Regions from separate parts of the Homo sapiens genome. Here region 2 is linked to region 1. The links are contacts of gene promoters, found by promoter capture Hi-C in human tissues and cell types (Jung and others, 2019). All regions are on one chromosome and are shown on one strand. The core of a region is centred on a gene start or on the middle of the fragment in contact, and the rest is flanking DNA. Distances in the headings are between cores, read along the strand shown.

The links. The method cuts DNA at HindIII sites, captures the fragments that hold promoters and counts their contacts. A contact is called where the count stands out against the background at its distance.
Region 2: the fragment with the promoter of CELA3A here is called in contact with a fragment that was not itself captured in region 1 in 2 of the 25 tissues and cell types used here (spleen and thymus).

Annotation. Positions count from the first base shown.
Region 1 is chr1:21,676,777-21,683,319 of GRCh38, forward strand. USP48 (ubiquitin specific peptidase 48) reads right to left here. Exons shown (of 27, transcript NM_032236.8): 26 at 4,032-4,058; 27 at 1,522-2,663. The coding sequence ends at 2,641. Among named protein-coding and RNA genes, the nearest start is that of RAP1GAP, 11 kb to the left of the region's middle. The HindIII fragment of the contact is 5,470 bases long and covers 352-5,821 here.
Region 2 is chr1:21,998,104-22,004,646 of GRCh38, forward strand. CELA3A (chymotrypsin like elastase 3A) reads left to right here and starts at 3,554. Exons shown (of 8, transcript NM_005747.5): 1 at 3,554-3,614; 2 at 4,900-4,985. The coding sequence starts at 3,572. It also overlaps a transcript of CELA3B not described here. The HindIII fragment of the contact is 21,174 bases long and covers 1-6,543 here.

The sequences.
Region 1 (6,543 bases), core at 1,837-4,336:
ATAGAGTTCATAAATACACAGAAAGATACTTACTCCCCAGGAAATGAAGACACCCAAATGCAGCCTATATTTCAGTTCGTGGTGACAATCTGTACCAGTGTAGTATGCTGAACACATTCGTTTCAGATTAAAGAATGGTCAGAAATATCAAGGGGAAAAGACCCAAGCTTCATAATACCTTATACCGGAGACTGATCTAATATAAAAAAGTACACATGCATGGCATTAGAACCCCAACACAAAGAGTCTCTGAACTTTTCACAGTCCAGAAGGCAAATGGACTCCATCTATTCATAATTACAGACGAAACGAGAATCGGGCTTTAGGTCATACCCTTTACCTGTTTTTCCCTGTACCAAGTGAGAAGGGTGGCAATGCAAAACCATTCAATACAAGCATACGTTTCTTTGCAACTCTGCCTACTATGGGTGGGAGAGGCCCCAAGCCCAGGGTTTCAAAGAGTACAGGAGTGGCCTGTGGATGCAGATTCCGATTCAGCGGGTCTAGGGCCTGAGCTCCTGCCTTGGTAATAAAGCTTCACAGTGTCACTGGAGCCGCTGGGCTGCAGTTACTTTCAGCAGTGCTGGCAGAACAAGGCAAGTTGTCAGAGCAGGAGGAAGATGACCCTGAGCCAAGGGCAGACTCTTGCAGCATCACCTGCTCACTCGGTGCCCACCCCACCCCTGGACAGAGATAATAAAGAAGCCAGTACTCAGAGCAGGTACCACCAGCCTGAAAGATTTACAAAAGGCTGTTATTTCGTAGCATTGCAGGAGGAAAAAATACCCAAGTAACAAATTTCAAAACTGTTATCAACAGCAAATTGGGGAAAATATATCAGATTTCTGGGGGCTGCTAACATGTTTATGTCAATCCCCAAAAAGAACCTTCTCTGGCCAACAAGCTTCTTTGTAAGGAAAAGGAAGTGGCTTCAATCAAGCATTGTGCGAACTTTTATAAAAGTCTTTACCTTGGGAAAGAAGAAGTTTGTGTTATTAGTTTTAGGCTCCTGCATTCATTTCTTTGGAGCTAATAAAACAATGAGATCTAAAAATCAGGATCCATCAGCTCAACTTCAAGTCCTTCCCCTGTGCCAACCTCAAGGCCAGAACAGTTGGTCCCTTGGTTCCACTCCTAGGATGGTTTCTCAGGGGGCTGTGTGCAGCTCTCACCTTCCCCCATAGATAGGCTCATTAGAGACCCCCTGCCTCCTCAGGGGACACAGACTGAAGACATTAGAAACACAGAGGGGAAACACAAACACGAAGTTAGAATTTTACCAAATGGCCGTAATTACTCTGACAAAAGGAGCTATTCAAAAGGGATGCTGCCAAGGTTATCGGGTCTCAAATCAAAATCTGCCTTCCCCATCCATGATCTGAGTTCACATTTTCATGAAAGGGGGAAAAAGCCTTGCACAAACCCAAGGCCAAGAAAAGTGTTAACAAGAGAGATGCCTAAGCTAGCATCTCAGCCACAAACTTACACAGACGGACTCAACAGAGAAAACTTTTTTTTTTTTTTCAAAGGAAAAACTCCAGTCTTAAGTTCAATTAAAAAAACCCCTTCAATATTCTTAAGAATATTGCTTCGGTTACGTGTTGCTAAGAATGATAATCCTGAGTTGGATGGACAGCACATCCATATACTTTTTTCCTTTTTTAAACAATGATCTAAGAGACCCTCTCAGGGCATTTTGGAATAATGCTTTCAAAAAGAGAACTGAGGTCCAAGAAACAGTGACATGGAGGACAGGAAGAACAAATTTTATAGAAACCTTGTGTTATCCAAATGTACTTCAGTCTGATTTACTCTTCTGATAGGTAGTCAGATTTTTTATTTTCAAACGTGCCAGGTACATTTCCCACTTTTGAATAACAGCAAAACCGGAAGAGGATGCTTTCACACATAATAAATGTTCTCCATCCTTTCTGAAATGCACCAAAGCAAAAAGCCTCTGAAGTCAAAACATGAGACATAATTCCTTGCTCATTGCAGGAGACATGCAGGTGCCCCCTCCTTTACCCAATACCAAGAGACAGACGGCCGGGCAGGTGTAAGGCGGGTGGCGCTGCAGCTGACATGGAGAAGAGTCTAAATCTGAAGACACTTTTCCACACTTAGGACAAGTTCTTCACTTTCATGCTTTATTGAAAGTAGAATATGAATCAAAGACAGGCATTGGTAAGCAGGTTATGTCTCTAAAATTACTTTTCGTTCAGAGCAGAATGTTGTCCCATCTACTTGATACAATCCTTTATGGACCAACGCATCTGGTATGAAACTCGAGCAAGGAAATATAACAGAACTTTATTCCCCTCCCACGACTATAAATCTCATATGTAAACATGATTTACTATTACTGCTACTAAACTTGTTCCGTCTTTACTTGCCCCCTCCCACCCACCACCCCCCTTAAATATAAAATTGGAAACATTTCCTTCAAGTCTGATGTCCATCAGTGCAATCTGCTTTATTTGACATAAGGCATTTGGGACAGTCACGTTTGAATGGATTTCTGCCTTTTGGAAGGGGCATGTAATGGTTTAATTCTTAAATCCACCTTTGCTTTAATGCCCTAACATGTCAAACTCCTCTTCCCCTCTGGTCATTTCTTAGCAGTCAGCAAGTATTCAAAGATTAATGTCCAAGAAGACCAGTACCTGGGAAAAGAAACACACGTGGAGGGATAGTTGTGAACTACAGATTAAAAGTTCATGGATTCCATTTACCAAGAACACATCATCAACAGGGAGCATCAAATTTAATAAATGAACACAGTCGCACCTTGGTGTGGGAGGATAAGACAAAATACCAGCAGACTCCAGGCTCTCCGCTAAATCACATTTTTGTTGAAAGCCATGTGCTTCCTAAGTGTATCTTCACACAAACTAACCAGATTTTATTGATTCTTTCATTTAATGACCATTCTTCTTTTCTGAGAGTTTCACTCTTGTCGCCCAGGCTGGAGTGCAGTGGTGCAATCCTGGCTCACTGCAACCTTATCTCCCAGGTTCAAGCATTCTCCTGCCTCAGCCTCCCAAGTAGCTGAGATTACAGGCGCACGCCACCATGCCCGGCTAATTTTTGTATTTTTAGTAGAGATGGGGTTTCACCATGTTGGCCAGACTGGTCTCGAACTCCTGACCTCAAGTGACCCACCCGTCTCAACCTCCAAAAGTGCTGGGATTACAGGCGTGAGCCACCATGCCCGGCCAATGACCATTTTTCATAAAGACGTTTTTTGCTTTGTTTTGACCCCATCAGGAGTCCCTTTGTAATGGTAGCATGCAGACAACACAGCTGCAGCAAGAGGAAGACTTTATTTTGGCCAGTAGATTTGTCTCTCATTTGCTTTAGCAAGGAATAGCTGGTATGTGATTCAAAGTCATTCCTTAGAAAATCACAACCTGCCAGGGGCTTCTGGAGTGGCCAGCAAAGAATCAAGACAGCAACAGGAAAATCCGAAAACGTCAGAGGTCTGTATTTGATGACTTCTTGAATATTATCGGTGTGCACAACTACATGGCCCAGATGTAGTACGAGCACCACCGTGTCTCCTCTTGAAGTAATAATCCAACAAATGCCTTAATGCTAAGTGATTAATTAAATCTTTTCACTGGACTTGATAAAACCTGACAAATTCTTGTGCCACTAATTCTTAATAGTTACACACTGTTTTGCTCTAGGAGGGGACTTGATAGGAAGAACTGGGAAAAGGTTAAAAATAAATCTTGAAATGCCACTAGCTAATTTCCCAACCTCCCATAAAATGAGAAAGGGAAGGCCAAATGGACATCTGGCAAGAAACAGTTCTAACACAAAAGCCCCAGCTGAGGCCCCATTTGAGGCCTGAGTGTTGAAAAAGATAATGAAGAAGCTTGAGTAAGAAATGCATTTAACTAAAATTAATTTCAGTCATGAGACTCAGATTGGATTAAAATTTAAAATCAAATTATAGCCTTCGCTTTAACAGAAAATTACAGGATGACTCTGACATTCATGAACAAAACATGACAAATGTAACTTACCTTTAAACCCTTCTTCTGGCATACAAACTGAAAAAAAGAAAAAAAGAAGAATTCCAAATTGAAAAGATTGTCGTGACAGACAGTAATATCATTTCAATGCTTAAAGACAAAAGTTTAAAATAACTTTTGATTACCTTTGTCACCTGTAATAATCATCTTTGAAGTTACGGATGTTACTAATTTCAGAACAATCTTTGTTTCTGTTTTTATCAAAGCAATACGTATGCATCATTTAAAAAGTCAAATACTGACAGGACAAGGTTTGTAACTAGGGCACACCTAGTGCACGACTCTAGGAGTGGCCTGGGAGGAAGCCATGTAACTGACTCCTCTGGAGCTGTCTCTCTCCCCTTCCTCCTCCCATTCCCAAGTTCTGGAAGGAGTCACTTTTGACTCACACAGCAGCTTCTTCTGGTATTTAGCCTATTTCTAAATAACATGCTTTTCATAATTTTATTTACTTTTTTTTTTTGAGAGGGTGTCCAGCTCTGTCACCCAGAATGGAGTGCAGTGGCATGATCTCGGCTCACTGCAACCTCTGCTTCCTGGGTTCAAGCAATTCTCCTGCCTCAGCTTCCCAAGTAGCTGGGATTACAGGCACCCACCACCACACTTGGCTAATTTTTGTATTTGTAGTAGAGACAGGGTTTCACCACGTTGGCCAGGCTCGTCTCGAACTCTTGACCTCAAGTGATCCGCCCGCCACAGCCTCCCAAAGTGATGGGATTACAGGAGTGGGCCATCGTGCCTGGCCTACTTCATAATTTTAGATAAAAATCTAATAAATTCTTCAGTGAAGGATACAAACAGCTGTTTTACCACTTACATAGCACCTGCCCCGACCCATCCTCCTGATGAAGTGGTGTTTGTTGTTGTTAAGCCAGTCTCCAGCGCTGGCATTACTTTTTACGCCATTAATACTAGTCACAGTTGAATGCCTTGGTGCACCTTGGTTATATTTACTACATGGTATGACTTGGTCTTTCTGGGCTTGGTAACTACTGAATTACTGATGTGTTTCATTTTCTCTGTATTTATCTCCAATTCACGTGTAAATTCTTAAAGACCTGTAACCTCTTGAAGACAGTCATCATCCCTTCCACTTTTCCTTGTGGCATCCCTTCCTGAAGCTCGCATCCCACCACTCCAATATGGATCAGGTGTCTTCGCTGCCTGCTGAAGAACAGTAGTTCTGAGACTTCCCTTCACCATCTTCTAGGGCATCTTATCCTAGGCTGATCTGCTATTTACTGGGTCCACTGTTGATTCTTTCTTGATTTAATGTTTAAGAAGAAGAACACATCCTCACACAGTATCATGGCAGACGGTGCATGACAGATCAATCTTTTGAAGCCCTGAATATGTTCAAGGGGCCATCAGGTGTGAGGGTTACAGACTTATAGATTGGAACTTGCTTTCCCTCAGGATCTTGCGGGCACTGCTCTATTATCTTCCTGACTTCATCCTGTGAATTTGACTGGCTTTCCCTCCTACTTCTAGATGCTTTCATGACCCTCTTACCCTTAGTTTTTTACTTACTATATCAAACCCAGGGTACCATCATTTTTTACATTTCCATGAACTCTCTTCTATGCTCCAAATGTTCCTTTTATATAGTTCCTCTTCCTATTGTTTGCTTTTTTTTTTTGCCATTATTTATAGGTTATTTTCCAGCTTTCTTATGCTTCCTATGCTATTTCCTCGACATATCTTGGTCCCAGGCTCTCATTCCTCAACTATCTGACTGCTCATATTTACTTAAGTATGAGGTACTAAAAAGATTTGTGGGCCAGGCGTAGTGGCTCACGCCTGTAATCTCAGCACACTGGGAGGCCGAGGCAGGCGGATCATGAGGTCACGAGTTCCAGAGCAGCCTGGACAACATAGTGAAACTCTGTCCCTACTAAAAATACAAAAATTAGCTGGGCATGGTGGCAGGCGCCTGTAGTCCCAGCTACTTGGGAGGCTGAGGCAGAAGAATCGCTTGAACCCAGGACGGGGAGATTGTAGTGAGCCAAGATCATGCCACTGCACTCCAGCTTGGGCAACTGTGAGACTCCATCTCAGAAAAAAAAAAAAAAAGATGTCTGAAAGCTCTGTTCAGTGGGCACTGGTGGGATTGACTAAAGGGTGCCTGGGACATGAACCAGCTTTAAAAAAAATACAAACAAGGCCAGGTGCAATAGCTCACATCTGTAATCCAAACACTTCGGGAGGCCGAGATGGGCAGATCACCTGACGACAGGAATTTGAGACCAGCCTGGCGAATATAGTGAAACCCCGTCTCTACCAAAAATACAAAAGTTAGCCAGGCATGGTGTTGCATGCCTATAGTCCCAGCTACTACTCAGGAGGCTGAGCCAGGAGAATCACTTGAAGCCCAGAGGCGGAGGTTGCAGTGAGCCATACTGCACTTCAGCCTTTTGAGACTCCATCTCAAAAAAATAAAAAATAAAAAATAAAAGCCAAACATAATATTTGTACATATTTATGGGGAACAGCTTATATTTTG
Region 2 (6,543 bases), core at 2,304-4,803, 320 kb after region 1:
ATTTTAAAGTTCCAACAGCTTAGATTTTGAATATCTTATTTTCACAGAAACTACAGGGCAACAAGGCACCAGAGTCCCGGACTTAGGACCACTGTGTGTGATTCACCGTGAACACTGGCATATTAAAGGCTCTGAGAAGTCCTGTAGGAAAGGACAATTTGAACTTTGTTTGAGCTCATATTTTCCAATCCCATCTGACCTTTAGTTCTTCACTGAGTGCCCACTGGGTTATATTCTGGGAGCCGAGGCCACAGCAGTGAACAAAGCACACAAAACCCCCCGCCCCATGGGGGCTCCGTTCTAGTGGGTCCATTTATCATCAAACATCTATTAATATCTCTAGAATGTGCCCATCAGGACACCATCCAGATGCTGCTGCGCTTTTCCAGGCCACACAGAGGGGACACCCTCCAGGTGCATCCTGCATGAATATCAGGCTCAACCGTGCTTTCAGGGTAGGAAGCGGAGGGCATTTGAAGAGTCCTTTCCCTTCCTTCATTCATTTGTTGTCTCCTTGAATAAATGCTGTTGAAAACCTACCATGTGCCAGGCTCCCTTCTAGGTACTGGGAATCGGAAGATGAATAAGATAAAGTTTTGATCCTCAAAGAGCTTCCTGTGGGGTGGGAACTGGAAAGAATGGAACTCCCCCAGTCCCGGGAAAAAGGCTCACCAGCTTCCCCTCCGTCCCCTCGCCAGCTTCCCCGCCCTCCCTCTCCTTCCCAGACTGACCTCCTAATTTTGCATACTCTCCGACCTAACCTCCACCTCCCATTCAGGAAATGGCTTGCTTTGCTTCAGGCTGAGGCCTAAAGTAGATCTAACCCCTCCATCTTCCCTCTTGCGGGGCAGGTGTTGGAAGGAGGTTCATCTTCAGGGATTTCACTCAAGCTACTCCTAGGCCAGAAAACCCTCGGAGAGTTAATCAGCCGTGCAACTGCCAGTGTCAGTCCATAAGGCCTTGAAGTAACCAATCAGGCAGGGGTTGTGGTGGGACAGTTGGCGTCAGGGAGCCCCTCTCCCTGGGGACCCAGCAGAGCCGACAGAGAGGCTGGGACTTGCTCAAGGTCACCTGGGTAAGAAGCCGGGAAGGCTTCTCGGTTGAAGTTGGGGGAGGGAGAGTGGACCCTCCCGTGTCCGTGGGCTACCCTTCACCAGGCCAAGCAGTAACAAACCAGGGAAACTTGACCAAGTCCTGGCTTTTCTCTGGGTCATCATTTTCTTCTTCTTTTTTTTTTTTTTGTGACAGAGTTTTGCTCTTATTGCCCAGGCTGGAGTGCAATGGCACGATCTCGGCTCACCGCAAACTCCGCCTCCCAGGTTCAAGCGATTTTCCTGCCTCACCCTCCCTAGTAGCTGGGATTACAGGCATGTGCCACCACACCCGGCTAATTTTGTGTTTTTAGTAGAGATGGGGTTTCTCCATGTTGGTCAGGCTGGTCTCGAACTCCTGACCTCAGGTGGTCCACCCTCCTCGGCCTCCCAAAGTGTTGGGATTACAGGCGTGAGCCACTGTGCCTGGCCCATCATTTTCCCTTCTGTCAAATAAAAGTGGTTGGATTAGATCGCGTTTTAGGCCCTGTGGGTTTCAGACACTCTACAGTGGAATCTGGGCTTATCGGACCTAACCCTATCTCTCCCCAGCCACCTCCTGGGCCCCTCCCTCCTTCTTCCCTGGCGTAGGGTCTGGGGAATGGCTCAGAGCTTTCAAGCTGAGCAAACATGTCCGGGCACATAGGGAACAGAGGGTAGGGGAGGGCATGGCTATTTTTATCACAGTATAAAGGATTTTCACAGCTGCTTCCCTTGTGTCCACACACGTTCCACGAACCCAGGCTATCAGAGTGGCTAGGCTGTGATTGGAGGGGGTTCACTCCTAAAACAAAACCTGCTCAGCAAGATGCCTGACTTTCCCCCAGGAGGGATCTATTTAAATTGCCCCGTCTGGCCGGATGCAGTGGCTCATGCCTGTAATCCCAGTACTTTGGGAGGTCGAGGTGGGTGGATCACCAGAGGTCAGGAGTTGGAGACCAGCCTGGCCAACATGGTGAAACCCCGTCTCTACTAAAAATACAAAAATTAGCCGGGCGTGGTGGTGCGCGCCTGTAATCCCAGCTACTCAGGAGGCTGAGGCAGGAGAATCGCTTGAACCCGTGAGGTGGAGGTTGCAGTGAGCCAAGATCGCACCACTATAAAAAAAAAAATCTATTGTGTGAATATGCTACACATATTGACCTATGAACCTTGATGGACGTGGGAGTTGTTTCTAGGTCTTTGCTGTTGAGTTTTGAGAACAGGGGCTGCGGCAAACAATCTCATCCACACCTCCTGGAGCACATGCCTAAGGTTTTCTCACGGTATAGACCTAGGAGGGAAACGGCTGGATCACCTGTGAATTCCACTTTCGGGGTCGCCTGCTCTTTGACCTCATCTCCCACCCCTCTCTACTTTGACTACCAAGCTCCTGTCACACTGGCCTCCCCTTCCTTGAACAAGTCAAGCCCATTGCAGCCTCCAGAACTTCGCACCTGCTGTCGCCTCCCTTCAGAGCGCGTTTCTTTCAGGGATTCCCGTGGCTGGCTTTTACTTATCCTCAGGACTCCATCAGATATGACCTCCTCAGCCCAAATGTCACTTTCTCTGTCCCCCCCATCTAAATGACTTACTCCCATTCCTACCCCAATCACCTATGTTTCATTTTCTTTTCTTCTCTGTTTTTTTTTTTGGTTTTGTTTTTGTTTTTTGAGACAGTGTTGCTCTGTGGCCCAGGCTGGAGTGCAGTGGCATGATCTCGGCTCTCTGTAGCCTCTGCCTCTCCGCTCCCAGGTTCAAGTGATTCTCCTCCCTCAGCCTCCCAGTAGCTAGGATTACAGGTGCTGGGATTACAGGTGCTCACCACCACACCTGGCTAATTTTTGTAGTTTTAGTAGAGATAGGGTTTCATCATGTCTCGAACTTCTGACCTCAAGTGATCCTCCCACCTTGGCCTCCCAAAGCGCTGGGATCACAGGTGTGAGCCACCGCTCCTGGCCTAGACTCAAACTCTAGAAGGGCTGAGACCATGCATTTTTCACAGCTGTATCCCCTAGAACAGTGCCTGATACATAGAGAAAAAGTGCTCAACAAGAATTTTTTTGTGGAGGTGGGTACTAATATAAATCTCATGTTAGAGAGCAGAAAACTGAGACTCAGAGAGGTTAAGCCATGCGCCCAAAGTCGCAGAGCTTGAAGGTGGCAGAACCAGGATTGAACCGTGGTCTGCCCGGTTCCAGTGCCCCTGTTCTTTCCGAAAGAGGAGGTCTTGTCCTGACATGAGCTTTTCTTCCTGAACTCTTGTTATCAGTTGGCCACTCCACACCACCTGTCCAGCCACCTGTTGGAGGGAACGCTAGGTCCTCCCTTTGGCTGTCACTTGTCCATCTGCAGCAGGCGAGGACTGTGGCCTTGGACCATGGGAGACCTGGAGTTCCACCACCTGTTCTGGGAGTGGGGCCCAATCAGCCCCCCTGCTTACCTTCTGCCCTATATTAGAGCCCCAGGCTCTGTGCCCTTTTCCTATCATCACAAAACTCATGATGCTCCGGCTGCTCAGTTCCCTCCTCCTTGTGGCCGTTGGTAAGACCCCAACCTGTCTGTGTGCTCCCTGGGCTGCCCTGGACTAGGAATCCTTGAAATCTACCACTCGCTCTGAGTCCCATGACATGCTATGCCTGGTTCCACAGGAGGGGGTCTCAGCTTGTACCCGGGGGCATGACTGTAGGGGCTTTCAGCTTATGATGGAGCAGGAGAGTGGAGGGGAAGCTGTGGATGGTGAAAGACCCCCAAAGGGCTGTGGTGGAAGTCCTTGATGGGGGCAGTAAACAAAGTCAAACGGTTAAGAGTTTGGACTGTGTGGTTGGACTTCTTGGGTTGGAATTTCCACAGTTCTACTTACCACTCCAACTCTCCTCTCACTCCCCCTACCTGGCTCCATATTCTATGCTCTGGCCTTTTCCTGGTCTCTCTGCCATATTACATTCCAGCTCAGGGCCACCTCTTCCAAACAGCCTCCCTTGACTGACAATAATGGTAACAGATAACATTGATTGAGTGCTTACTATGCCAGGCAGAATGTTTAGGGATTTTCTTATACTTTCTCATGTAATTCTCACAACAGCCTCAGGAGATCAGTACTATCATTATCCCCCATTTTACTGACCCTCAAGGAAGTAAAGTAGCTTATCATAGAACAAAAGGCAGAGCTGCACTTAATGTTTTTATTTTTTGCTTTTTTTTTGTAGAGATGGGGTCTTGCTTTGTTGCCCAGACTGGTCTCAAAATCCTGGCCTCAAGCAATCCTACCACCTTAGCCTCCTGAGTAGCTGAGATTATAGGCACATGCCACCATACCTGGCTACTTTATTTTATTGTACTTTATTTTTCTAGAGATGAGGTCTTGCTATGTTGCCCAGGCTGGTCTCAAACTCCCGGGCTCAAGCGATCCTCCCGCCTCGGCCTCTCAGAGCACTAGGATTACAGGTGTGAACCACCACACACAGCCCAGAGCTGCACTTTGAACCCAGGAAGTCCTTCTTTAAAGCCTCCACTCTGTATGACAATAGCTCTCACTTTTTGAGGGCTCATCGAGGGCCAGGCATTGTTCTAAGTGTATCAAGCTCTTCAATCCTCCCAATGAAGGAGGCCACATTTGAATCTCTATCCCTGGACTCCTGGGATTCTGGAAAGCCCTGCTCTAGTTTAAATGTTCACTGTTCATATGTGGTTACTGAGGTCCAGAGGGCGAAAGGGGCTTGCATGGGGTCACACAGCCAGTTGAAGGCATGGCTTGGACTGGGACCCTGGCCTCCTCTTTGCTTTTGGGGACCCTCCAGCTGATTGACAGCTCTCCTCTCCCCTCTAGCCTCAGGCTATGGCCCACCTTCCTCTCACTCTTCCAGCCGCGTTGTCCATGGTGAGGATGCGGTCCCCTACAGCTGGCCCTGGCAGGTAAGAGCAATAGCAGCTGCCCTCATTCCCACCGTGGGCTCTGGACCCTAAGCTCTAATGGCGTGGCATCCAGCCTTGACACCATTGCTCCCTTTGCAATGTCCACTTCAGCTTCCAAAGACCAGGCAGCCCTTGGACCATCTACTTCACGGGGAGGTTTTGCCCGTTTCATCTGTAACCCTCACTGGGCTATTTGCAACTTAAAATTGGAATCGGGGGTGAAGGAAATGCTAAACTCAAGGAGTTGGCACACTGATGGTGGAATTTCAGGCACTGTGTTGACGAAGTGAGATTTTGAGAGACTCATTTCTAGATTCCTAGGATGATACTACAGGGCTTTGAGGTCTGAAAGCAATAAGGGAGTGAGGGATCTTGTAAGGCCAGTGGAGGGAAGCTCAGAAGGCTGGACTTGATGTGCTGTGGCTATTTAAATTTAATTAAATTAGGCCAGGTGCGGTGGCTCACGCCTGTAATCCCAGCTACTCAGGAGGCTGAGGCAGGAGAATCCCTTGAACCTGGGAGTTGGAGGTTGCAGTGAGACAAGATTGCACCACTGCACTCCAGCCCCGGGCAACAGAGTGAGACTCTGTCTCAAAAAAAAAAATTAAATTAAATTATTATTACTATTATTATTGAGACAGAGTTTCACTCTTGTTGCCCAGGCTGAAGTGCAATGGCACAATCTTGGCTCACTGCAAACTCTGCCACCCGGGTTCAAGCAATTCTCCTACCTCACCTCCCAAGTAGCTGGGATTACAGGCACGCGCCACCAAGCCCGGCTAATTTTGTATTTTTAGTAGAGACAGGGTTTCACTGTGTTGGCCAGGCCAGTCTGGAGCTTCTGACCTCAGGTGATCCACCTGCCTCGGCCTCTCAAAGTGCTGGGATTACAGGTGTGAGTCACTGCACCCAGCTGAAATTTACTTACATTAAAAATGTTAACAATTCATTTCCTCAGTGCTTTTTTCTTTTCTTTTCTTTTCTTTGTTTTTTTTTTTTTTGAGACAGGGTCTTGCTGTGTTGCCCAGGCTGGAGTGCAGTGGTGTGATCTCAGCTTACTGCAGCCTTGACCTCCTAGGTCCAAGCAATAATCCCACCTCAGCCTCCTGTGTAGCTAGGACTACAGGCATGCGCCACCATGCCCAGCTAATTTTTATACATTGTTGTAGAGATGGGGTCTCACTATGTTGCCCAGGCTTGCCTCGAACTTCTGAGCTCCAGTGATCCTCCTGTCTTGACCTCCCACAGTGCTGGGATTATAGGCGTAAGCCACCATGCTTGGCCTGCTTGCCACATTTCAAATGTTCAATAGTCACATGTGGCTAGTGGCTACCATATTGGACAGCAAAGATATAGAACATTCCCATGATTATGGGAAGTTTTATCGGAGAGGGTCAGCAGGCTTATTCTGTAAATGGCCAGAGAGTGAATATTTTAGGTTATTTGATGGTTTGGATAGTAATGACTTGACTGTGCCATGGTAGCATGAAAGCAGACACAAACAATACAGAAATGAATGTGACTATTTCCAGGACATCTTTATTACAAAAACAGACCA